Linked DNA regions of Homo sapiens: region 1 is linked to region 2. Evidence: promoter capture Hi-C in 16 types of primary human blood cells and fetal thymus (Javierre and others, 2016). All regions are on one chromosome and are shown on one strand. The core of a region is centred on a gene start or on the middle of the fragment in contact, and the rest is flanking DNA. Distances in the headings are between cores, read along the strand shown. Region 1 overlaps LOC124901228 (translation initiation factor IF-2-like). Region 2 holds the start of FAM135A (family with sequence similarity 135 member A).

Region 1 (5,514 bases), core at 1,377-3,876, 6.8 Mb before region 2:
CCTGGCCAACATGCAGAAACCCCATCTCTACTAAAAATACAAAAATTAGCCGGGTGTGGTGGCAGGTGCCTGGTAATCCTAGCTGCTTGGGAGGCTGAGGCAGGAGAATCACTTGAACCCGGGAGACGGAGGTTGCAGTTAACCAAGATTGCACCATTGCACTCCAGCCTGGGTGACAGAGCGAGACTCTGTCTCAAAAAAAAAAAAAAAGAGAGAAATTTCAAAAGGCTTCTATACTCATTTTCTCTTATGTTCAGTATCTTCCAGCCATGAATGGAACTATAGAAATACACGAAGATAGCAACGTTTGTTGAACATCCCTAGTTAAAAAGCAACTGTGTTAGGATAAGAAAAAAGCATGACTGTTGTAGCTTTTGTTAAATAAATGTTATTATGCTTGCAGGAAATTGTTCAACAACATTTCTCCTTATGTAAGGCCTGCCCCAGTAATGCTGCTTAGGTCACTGTCTGTCTGGATTATCTGCAGCCTAAATGCCAACTCTGTAAATTAAACCTGTCAAGTGACAGCTTTGCCATAGCATGCATATCCAACCTTTAAAATTTATTTATACTCCATTCCCTTTCTCTAGCCAGATTAAATTCTCCTTTCCTAAGCTATTTTTGCCTCAGTTCAGACTGTGGCATAATTCAACATGTTCTAAACAATCACATGGAGACTGTGGCCTTCCTGATTTTCAATTCCCAAATGATTTTTATTCAGGCTATAGAACAGCAACAGAAATTTCACCAAATTTGCTAAAATAAGAAGAGTCTTCTCAAACTAGATTCCTCCAGGTACCAGTAGGCAAAACAGTCATGAGTTATGGATAGATTCATAATAAGTCCTTTATTCAGTGCCCCAAGGAAATGGTGCCTTTCAGCATGCAAATGAAAAGTATTCTCTTACTAATCAATCTGTCCATCATTTCTTTTTTGTTTTTCCTTGAGAGAGAGGGTCTTTGGTCTGTTGCCCCAGATGGAGTGCAGTGGCATGATCACAGCTCACTGCAGCCCTAACAACTCCTGGGCTCAAGCAATCCTCCCACCTCAACCTCCGAGGGAGCTACAACTACAGGAATGCACCATCATGCCCAGATAATTTTTTTTTTTTTGTAGAGACAGGGTCTGACTGTGTTGCCCAGGCGGTATCTGTCACATCTTAATACACACACTAAGCTCCTACAGAAGTAAATACTATATTAAGCGGCAGAGTTACTAATGTGAATACACATTCTCATTTGATTTGGAGACTACCTAGACAACTTTCAGGTTTATATTTAAATTGATTACAATTAGACATGAAAAAGGGACAGAGAATGGGCATAATAGAGATCGATTCAAGAGAATTGTTTCTTAAAATAGACTTTAAAAAAAAAAGTTGTTCAAAACTGCCTTAATCAATTTTACAGAGAAAATATTACCTCAAATGGTTTGATATGATGACTTGATAAGATGTTACTTCTGATCCAGCAGGATTCATTTATTAATATAAATATTTACATCTGTAGTACCCTCCTAGGTGGGTGACTGTTTCTATATGTCTGACTCAACAAAACACAGTAGCCCACAGGCAGCTATTGGCCTTTGGACTTTGTCCTTAGGCCAGATTCCTTAAAAGGCTTGTTGTGACAAGCTTATTTGCTCATTGGAAATTTCTGTGTCTAAATTTCCCACAGAAATTAGGATGTAGCTCTGCTACAGCATTTTGATTATTCATCAAAACTTACTCAAAAGACTTTTGATAAATCTTTAAATCAATGTCTTAAGGAAGAAAATTAAGTCACTTTTTAATATAGAGCATGTTTTAGTTTTGAACAATATTTAAGCACTGCAAATTATATGTTCATAGAGATTTAAGCATAGGCATACCTTGGAGATATTGCAAGTTCAGCTCCAGACCACCACAATAAAACAGGTATTACAATAAAGGAAGCCACATGCATTTTTTGGTTTCCCATTTACACTACATTGTTGTCTGTTAAATGTGCATAGCACTATGTCTAAAAAATGTACATACCTGTTTTGTCCCACTGAACCCATAGCTGGAGTTGCCTTAAAAGCAGCAGCAGGAGAATTCGTACAACAGAGTACCCCAAACCATTTGAAGACAGGGCTGGTTTGAGATTTCAAAGAAAGCAGCTCTAAATGCCAGAGTGATCAGTCCAAAACATTTATTAAAGGAACTTGCAGGGTGTTGCAATGTATTATTGTGATGGACAGCAAGAGAAAAGGGATGTTTTACCCACATTAGTCTGTAGCCAGGGGGTGAGGGGATGGAGTTTACATGAAAATTTAAGGAATTCGGCTCAGGGTCGGGGTCAGTTTCTTTCCAGTAAACCAAGACATTATTATCAGTGCCTGGGAATGTTCAAGCTGGTTTGGGTTCAAGCCAGCTGAGGAAAACCTATGGCTACAGCTGGCTGGGTCACTGTGATTTTGGTCAAGACACAGAAAGGAAGTGGGGAAAACGGGTACCCTAGAATACCTTAATTTAAAAATACTTTTGCTAAAAAATGCTAACAGTCATCTGAGCCTTCAGCAAGTCATAATCTTTGCTGTTGGAGAATCCTGCCTCAGTGATGATGGCAGCTGACTGATCAGGGAGGTAGTTGCTGAAGGTTAAGGTGGCTGTGGCAATTTCTTGAAATAAGACAATGGAGTTTGCTGCATTGATGACTCCACAAAAAATTTCTCTGTAGCAGGCAGTGCTGTTTGATAGTATTTTACACACAAGAGAACTCCTTTCAAAGTTGCAATCAGTCCTCTTAAAACTCACCCACTGCTTTATCAGCTAAGTTTATGTGATATTCTAAATCCTTTATCATTTCAACAATGCTTACGGCATCTTCACCAGCAGTAGATTCTATCTCAAGAAACCACTCTCTTTTCTCCTTCATAAGAAGCAACTCCTCATTCATTCAAGTTTGATCATAAAATTGCAGCGATTTAGTCAACTCTTCAGACTCTGTTTCTAACTCCAATTGTCTTGCTATTTTCACCATATTTGTAGTGATTTCCTCCACTGAAGTCTTGAACGCCCTCAAGGTCATCCATGAGAGTTGGAGTTAACTTCTTTCAAACTCCTGTTCATGCTGATACTTTTACCTCCTCTCATGAATGTTCTTAATGGCATCTAGAATCCTTTCCAGAATGTTTTTGGTTTACTTTGCTTAGATCCATCAGAGGAATCACCATCTACAGCAATTTATAACCTTATGAAATGTACTTGTTAAATATTAAAACCTGAAAGTCAAAATTATTCCTTGATCCATGGGTTGCAGAATGGATGCTGTGTTAGAAGGCATGAAAACAATATTACTCTCCTTGTACATCTCCATCAGAGCATTTCAGTGACCATGTGCATTGTCAAGGAGCAATAGTATTTTTAAATAAATCACGTTTTATCAGTAGGTCTCAACAGTGGACTTAAAATATTTAGTGAGCCATGCTAAACAGATGTGCTGTCAACCAGGTTTTGTTCTTCCACTTATAGAGCACAGCAGAGTAGATTTAGCATAATTTTTAAGGGTCCTAGGATTTTCAGAATGGTAAATGAACATCTGCTTCAACTTAAAGTCACCAGCCACATCAGCCCCTAACAAGAGAACTGCCTGTCCTTCGAAGCTTTGAAGCCAAGCATTGACTTCTATAGCTATGAAAGTCTTGGACAGCATCTTCTTCCAGTATAAGACTGTTTTGTCTACATTGAAAATCTGTTATTTAGTGTAGCCACCTTCATCAATGTTCTTGGCTAAATCTTCTCAATAACTTGCTGCAGCTTCTCCATCAGCACTTACTGCTTCACCTTTCATTTTTATGTTAGGGAGAGGGCTTCTACTCTTAAACCTCATGAATCCACCTCTGCTATCTTCAGACTTTTCTTCTACAACTTCCTCACCTCTCTCAGCCTTCATAAAAATGAAGAGAGTTAAGGCCTTGCTCTGAATTAGGCTTTGACTTAAGAGAATGCTGTGGCTGGTTTTCTATCCAGAACTCTAAAACTTTCTCCTTATCAACAATGAGGCTGTTTCACTTTCTTATCATTCCTGTGTTCACTGGAGTGGCACTTTTAACTTCCTTCAAGAGCTTTTCCTTGGCATTCACAACTTGACTGTTTTGGGTATGAGGCCTAGTTTTCGGCCTATCTCTGCTTTCAACTTGCCTTACTCAGCTTAATCATTTTTAGCTTTGATTTAAAGTGAGAGATGAATGACTCTTCCTTTCACTTGAACACTCAGAGGCCACTGTAGGGTTATTAATTGGCCTAATTTCAGTATTGCTGTGTCTCACTGAGGGACTGGCCCATCAGCGGAGCAGTCAGAATATATTCAACATTTATCAAATAAGTTTGCCATCTTAAATGGGTACAGTTTGTGGTGGCCCAAAACAATTCCAATAACAATATCAAAGATCACTGTTCACAAATTGCCATAACAAATGCAATAATAATTTAAAAGTTTGAAATATTGGGAGAATTACCAAGATGTAACACAGAGACATGAAATGAGCACATGCTATTGGAAAAATGGCTCTGATAGACTTGCTCGACAAAAAGCTGTCACAAACCATCATTTTGTTAAAAAAAAAAAACAATATTTGCAAAGCACAATAAATGAAGGTATGCCTGTATACTACATATTTATTTTTAATAATCATATAAGAAAATTAATTGGATATAAAATAGGCTGTTCTAAAACAGCAAGAGGGAAATAAACTTTAACAATGCTGACAGCAGCCATGGCATACTTGAATTTTTAGGACTCTTGTTAAATATGGGTATGGGAACTTACCCTCTGCACTAGTATCCAGACACTTACTAGATTATGGCCCATTGGGGTATTTGCCTCTATTACATATATTTGCTAGACTGTCATTATACCTTGCAATCTAGTGTCTTTTTCTAGGTTGATATTGTCACGTTTAATCTATTATGGCAATGATATTACTCTTGCTATGTTAAATGTTTTTATCAGACTTCCTTGTAGCCCCAACCAATCTGAGAAGATTGAAAATCAAGGAATCCTTCACTCCTTTTGTAAACTTGGTAAAATGGAATCAATGTTTACTAGATCTGCTGTTCTTGTGAAGATTTCTCTGTTCTTCTTCATCAAGATTTGCCAATCTTCCTCTGCACTCTTGCCTTCTGCAGTCTTTCCTCTTCCATAAAAATATCGCTTATAATATTCTTTTTTTGAAATGAAGTCTCACTCTGTCTCCCAGGCTAGAGTGCAGTGCCATGATCTCGGCTCACTGCAGCCTCTGCCTCCCAGCTTTCCAGTGATTCTCCTTCTTCAGCCTCCCAAGTAACTGGGATTAGAGGTGCCTGCCACCATGCCCAGCTAATTTTTTGTATTTTTAGTAGAGATGGGTTTCACCATGTTGACCAGGCTGGTCTTGAACTCCTAACTCCTAATCTCAGGTGATCCACCCACCTTGGTCTCCCAAAGTACTGGGATTACAGGCATGAGCCTGTATGCCACCATGCTCAACTTCCTTATAATATTCTTCTAGTCT
Region 2 (6,424 bases), core at 3,583-6,082:
ATAAACATATCAATTACAAGCCAGATTGAGACCTCCAAGAAATCCACTTTAAACATAAAGACAAAAGTAGGTTAAAAGTAAAAAGATAGGAAATTCTATATCATAGTAACATAAATCAAAATAAAGTTGAAATGATTGTATTAATACAATACTAAGTAGATTTCAGAGCAAAAAATTTCACTCGGGAAAATGAAGGCCATTTCATAATGGTGAATTATTCATATAAATTCATTGAGAGGACCTAACTATCCTAAACGAATATGCACTTAATAAAAGCGTGTCAAAATACATGAAGTAAACACACATAAAACTACAAAGAGAAATGGATAATGCCTACTGCGTTGAAATTTTGTTATAAGGAGCAGAAATAATGTATATTAAGACTAGCACTCAGCAGATGATAAAGGTTCAAGATGTTATCTACTGTTACTAGTATCAGAAAACTAAAAGATATTATAGTAGTTTATGCAATGCTTAAAGTTTTACTCAACTTTTTTTGTTTTTGCTGTAAAATGTAGATTTAAAATCTACAAATTACATTAATTTCCATTCACATTGTACCTTAAATCCTTTCTCCAGTCTCACCAGAAGAGATGTTCCTCTTTTTGTTCAAGTTTGACTTTTCCTTGGACTACAGAAGCATTTTGAAACAGACAAAATATTTTGAAAGAAAGGTCAGACAAGACATGGAAATGGAATGGACAGGAAACTAAAAAAAGGGAAGCATCAAATATAGCTGTGTTAGACATAAACATGGGAACAGTAGACGCTATGGACTACTAGAGGAGGAATGGAGGCAGTGGAGTGTGGGTTGAAAAACTACTTGCTGGGTACTATGCTCACTATCTGGGTACAATATACCCCTGTAACAAATCTGAACATACACCTTCTATATCTAAAATAGAAGTCGAAATTAAAATGTGTGTGTGTGTGTGTATATATATACACACGTATATATATATGTATATATATGTGTATATATATGTGTGTATGTACATATATATATAGTTGTGGAATAACTTTGACTATATCTCATTTTTAATTTTCAAATAATGACCATACTTACAACAGGAATATTTTAAAAATCATAAAGCCCAGTAAGGAAAAAGCCAGCTTAATTTTTTTTTTTAGTAAATTAATGTTTAGCATCTGACAAATATGAGACATCCTTCATGAGGCTATTTTCTTTTTCTTTCTTTCTTTTGTTTTTTTTTGAGATGCAGTCTTGCTCTGCCGCCCAGGCTGGAGTGCAGTGGTGCAATCTCGGCTCACTGCAACCTCTGCCTCCAGGATTCCAGTGATTCTCCTGCCTCAGCCTCCCAAGCAGCTGCGATTACAGGCACTCACCACCACGCCTGGCTAATTTTTGTGTTTTTGGTAGAGACAGGGTTTCACTATGTTGGCCAGGCTGGTGTCGAACTCCTAACCTCGTGATCCACCCGCCTAGGCCTCCCAAAGTGCTGGGATTACAGGCATGAGCCACTGCGCCCGGCCTTCATGAGGCTGTTTTCAAATTTACAATATTCATTTCTTCTACTGTCTCAATCTTTAGCTGAACCAATGTTGTGCAACCGAGAAAGGGAGAGATAACCTGATCTTTGGATTAAGAGAATACTCCACAGTTAGAAGGGTTTAGCAAACATTCAAAAACACTCCATGCCAAAGTTAAATTATGTAAACCAATTACAAGATAGAAAGGATTCCAAATCTTATATTCCTTGAGCACAACATAGATTGAAAAGGACACATATATAACATAAAATGTTAATGTACATTAAATGTGACACAAAACTGTTTATTAGCAGCATAATGGGTGACACCAAACTTGGGAAGATAAATATGGGAAGTAAATTTAGAATCAGGAAATTTCTAGACAAATTTCTAAAGGAATTCAAAGTCTATATAATGTGATTATCTTCTTATATTTGAGAGAAAACAGACCTAGAGAAGATAAGAGACTCTCAAGATAACACAGTATACTGTAGACTCTAGAATTAGAACCAGGTAATCTGACAATTAGATCAGTATGCTATACTCTCTAGTAGTCTGTACCTCAGTAGATGCCATAAATTTTCGTATTTCTTATTGTTTTTGTTGTTGTTGTTGCTGTTCGTTTTGGTTTTTTTTGCGATGGAGTCTCACTCTGTCACCCAGGCTGGAATGCAGTGGCACGATCTCGGCTCACTGCAACCTCCACCTCCCAGGTTCGAGTGATTCCCATGCCTCAGCCTCTGGAGTAGCTGGGATTACAGGCGCCTGCCACCACGCCCGGCAATTTTTTTATTTTTAGTAGAGATGGGGTTTCTCTACTAAACCCAGGCTGGTCTCAAATTCCTGACCTCAAGTGATCTGCCTGCCTCGGCTTCCCAAAATGCCGGGATTACAGGAGTGAGCCACCCCAGGTGAATTTTCTTATTTCTTTAAGAGATTATTTTATATTCTTCTATCAATAGATAATTACCAGGAAGTCCTGCTAAATCTCTAGGTTAGTTAAGTGCTCCTCTTCTGGGTTCCCAGACAACCCCGTACCTACCCCAATTTTAACTCTGTAGCAGAACTTGTTTTTTTTTTGTTTTTACATGCCTGTCTACCCCTGCTAGATTGCAAACTCTGAGATTTTAGACTGACCCTTAACTTTCATTATATCCCTCAGTAACTAGCACAGTATTTGGCAAATATCTAATAAGCTATATATATATATATAATGGTTGAACTGATTTGACTTTTTTTGAAGGCTCACCATGATCCTTGTCAACTTCTCCAGCCTCACATCCCTAAACAGTGGCATAGAAGTCTTAGTTTTAGTTCAGCACAAAGACCAGTTTCTTACTGTACAGCTTCTGTTCAAGCAATCCTTTTCCCTTTACTCCTCCCAACCGCCACCACAAGACATCCCACTTCAACTCTCTGGAATCATTTTCTCCTGGAAGTTTTTCCTGACCCATGACCTCTTCCCAAAGTTGGATTAATGCTTCTTCTGAGCTTCAATAGCTCTCTGTGCATTTATCTCTGCACTATACACATTACATCATAGGGTAATAATGCAAACACTCCACCCAAGTTCTTTTTCATTCATGTTGGTATCTTCCAAGATTAGCACACTGCCTGGCACACAGCAGATGAGTTAACAATGTGATTTGAATAAAAAGAACGTGGAACAGGGAAAGAATCTTGGCACACTGTGTGTTTTAGGGATGCACGGACGTGGAAATGCAAATAATTGGTTGTTTACTATATTTTCCTAAGACATGGCTGGAACTAAAAAAAAAACAGAAAAAGCCTTTCCAATTTTGAGGCTAAAGTTCAAGTCACAAAACAAGCAATAAAAGCCTGTTTAGCAAGGATAGTAAAATGGTATAGGGCTATAAAAGAAGGGACAAATTAGAAATCAGGAAAGCAGGCCATTCATACAAATGCAAATAAATTGGTTCACAGGATAAGAGGACACCCAATCATGTAAAAACTGGTACAAGCCAGGCACGGTGTCTTAGGCCTGTAATCCCAGCACTTTGGAAGGCCAAGGCGGGTGGATCACCTAAGGTCAGGAGTTCGAAACCAGCCTGACCAATATGGTGAGACCACGTCTCTACTAACAATACAAAAAGTAGTCAGGCGTGGTGGTGTGCGCCTGTAGTCCCAGCTACTAGGGAGGCTGAGACAGGAGAATTGCTTGAACTCCGGAGGCAGAGGTTGCAGTGAGCCGAGATCACATTACTGCACTCCCGCCTGGGCGACGGAGCAATGCTCTGTCTCACACACACACTCGAAAAAAAAAAAAACTGGTACAAAGATATATTCAAAACCTGTCCCCTAAATGGCCTACGTTACAAGACCTCACCATTACTTTCAAATGAATGCACAAAGCTTTTCCCTTCTAATTCATTCTTATTGTGGTAAAATATACATAACAGAAAATTTACCATTTTAACCATTTTTAAGTGCACAGTTCAGTAGCATTATGTCCATTCATTGTTGTGCAACCAACACCACTATCCATCCTAGATTCATTTTTAAAACAAGAGTCGCAGCTGAAATTTTCCTTTCATTAACTCAGCTTTAGCAACATACTGAACTTTATGCACCACAAAAGTTTTTGCCAGATAAGGTTCAGAAACAGGGAAGAGTGAAATAAATCAATGATCCTTCGTGGGCTTCTGTTAACGGAATGTATTAGCGAAAGGCTTCACTTCATCAGCCCCCTCCCGCCCTTTTTGGCGTCATAAACCAAGAAACAACCAGATCAGCACCCACATCTCCCAAGATGCAAACACTGGGTCCCGAAAGGCATCTGTCCTGCCCCGGCGCAGATCCCCTGCAGCCTCCTTTCCTACTGCACAAATCGACTAGCGCAGGGACCGGGCTCTCTACCCGGGACTGCACGGAGGAGCTAAAGAGAGAAAAGGAGAAACAACATTGTGAGAAAAACGGCTAAAGTTCTCGAACTCCGTGTTTTTGCCCTCTTCTTGTTCACTACTCTTCAACCACCTCCAAGTTCCATCCCTTAAACCCACAAGCGAGCCCCTTTTCTTGACGCGCGCCTTTTATTGACGCAAACCTCCCGTTCTCGCGGGAACTTGGGAACGGGAGCCTGGTAGGGAGGACAAATCTCTCGAAATCTCAGTTGGCGCTGGAGCTGGAGGGGCAGTTGAAGCTCCTGAAGGGCGGGGCACGGAGCTTGAAGGGGCGGGGCCTAGCCTCAGAGAGGGGAGGGAAGAGGCGGGAGGAGGAGGTGAGAGAGGCCGGGGGCGGGGCCGTGCGGCCGGGGACCTGTTGATCGCAGGTATAGCCGGCTGGCCCGGGCTCCCTCGGGACTGGGGCGACTGCGCATGCTCGCTGGCCGCGCTGGGCCAGTAGCCGAGCCGCGGTGACGAACCGGCTCCGCGGTTGCGGTGTTTGCGGTTGCTGTGATGGCGATGTGAGGGGGCCCGGGGCGGGATGGTGCTGACCCGGGTCGGGCCGTCTTCTTGCAGCTGGACAACGAGCTCCTCCGTTCGACAGGCGGGGGAAGAGGCCGAGCCGGGCGAGAGGTAACCCCCTTACTGTCCCCTCTGGCTCCCCCGGCTCCCGACACCCACGACCCCTCCCTCCGTCCCTCTTGCCCAGGGGCCAGGAAGGAAGCGGCCTCCTCTTCGTCCGCCGTTCGCCCGCCGCGGCCCCTCACCCGACTGCTGGCGGTCGGAGCCTGGCCCCGGCCCCGTTGAAGGTCGGTGGGGACGGCGGTGCGGAGCGCTCTGAGGGAGGCGAGGGGCCGCGGCGCGCTGCTCTCCCGGTGCCCGCGGCCGCCCCTGCCCCTGCGCGCGTCCCTCGACCCGTTCTTCCTGAACCTCGCGCCTAGCGTGTTTGCCCTTCACCCCTGCTCCATCTTCGTCGCTCTGTCCCTCCTTTACCCGCTTTCGTGGTTCTGCTTTTTCATCCCGCGCCTCCCACGTGTCTTTTTGCCCGGGTGGTCCCTCCTTGGGAAGCAGCGTATCTCTGTGCTTCCATCCCTTGCCTGGCTCTTCCCTGTCCGGAGCTCCTTACCCTGGCCGACCAGGTTTCTCACTCTTGTTACCTCCATAATTTCTTCCTTGGTTTTATTTTCCTCTCATCCACCTCCTTTCGGTACTTCCTCCTGGTTCCCTTTTTGTTAGTTGCCGATTGTGTTTTGCTTTAGCATCGCTTTGCATTGGAGTTCATTCCATGCCCCATCTTAGCTTCGGAAACCCTCACTGCCTTCTCTTTCCTCTGGTACCCTGCTTCATCGCTTTCTGTCTAATGGCCCCTATCCTCACGTCCTTTTCCATTCTGCACCCAGTGAGTCTCTAATCTTAATTTTTTCCCCTCCAAAACTCTTCCACCCTCCCCCCCCCATTTGTATAAGTCAAGCCTCTTAACTTCATTCCATTTGTTTTACTTTTTATTAAATCTCTGAAGACTTCTTTGTGACATACCCTTCTAGTCCTTGCTGCTTTCTGCCTAAGCTAGGTATCCACTCAATGTTTCTAGTTCATCTTCCAGTTTAATAACATTTCTTCTTTCTTTACCGGTTGGTGGAAGTATCATCAAAAGAGTGACAGTAGCAACAAATCGGTTACACTTACTGATTAAAGCTTTAATTTTTAAGAATTATGTTTACCTGGCATGCCTGGGAAAGCAACTTGAGTACAGACTAAATGAAACTATAATGGGTTAAGACTTGTTAAAGGTTGACCTACAAACATACACTTAAAATTTGGAAATTTTCTTGTCCTCCATTAGGTGTAGCTGTCCAAGAACTAATCTTAAATGAAATTTAACAGAATTTCTTTTTTAAAATGTATTATTAATTTGTTTTATACATTTGCTATTGCAATTGATTGCATAATTTTCCTGAGAGTCTCTGTTCTCTAATAAATGCATACAATTTCTGCTACCTTTAGAATTAGTGTGCTTATAGGAGACATAC

What was found. The method cuts DNA at HindIII sites, captures the fragments that hold promoters and counts their contacts. A CHiCAGO score of 5 or more calls a contact.
Region 1: a contact is called between a fragment that was not itself captured here and the fragment with the promoter of FAM135A in region 2, in 1 of 17 cell types (activated CD4 T cells). The highest score is 5.1, in activated CD4 T cells.

The regions. Positions count from the first base shown.
Region 1 is chr6:63,564,081-63,569,594 of GRCh38, forward strand. It overlaps LOC124901228 (translation initiation factor IF-2-like), which reads right to left. Exons shown (of 2, transcript XM_047419610.1): 2 at 2,155-5,514. It also overlaps a transcript of LGSN not described here and a transcript of PTP4A1 not described here. Among named protein-coding and RNA genes, the nearest start is that of PTP4A1, 5.6 kb to the right of the region's middle. The HindIII fragment of the contact is 1,991 bases long and covers 1,632-3,622 here.
Region 2 is chr6:70,408,676-70,415,099 of GRCh38, forward strand. It overlaps FAM135A (family with sequence similarity 135 member A), which reads left to right and starts at 4,833. Exons shown (of 22, transcript NM_001162529.3): 1 at 4,833-5,027. FAM135A-AS1 (FAM135A antisense RNA 1) reads right to left here and starts at 5,283. Exons shown (of 2, transcript NR_147708.1): 1 at 5,162-5,283; 2 at 4,153-4,387. RefSeq lists silencers at 4,640-4,859, 5,200-5,349. The HindIII fragment of the contact is 2,225 bases long and covers 3,863-6,087 here.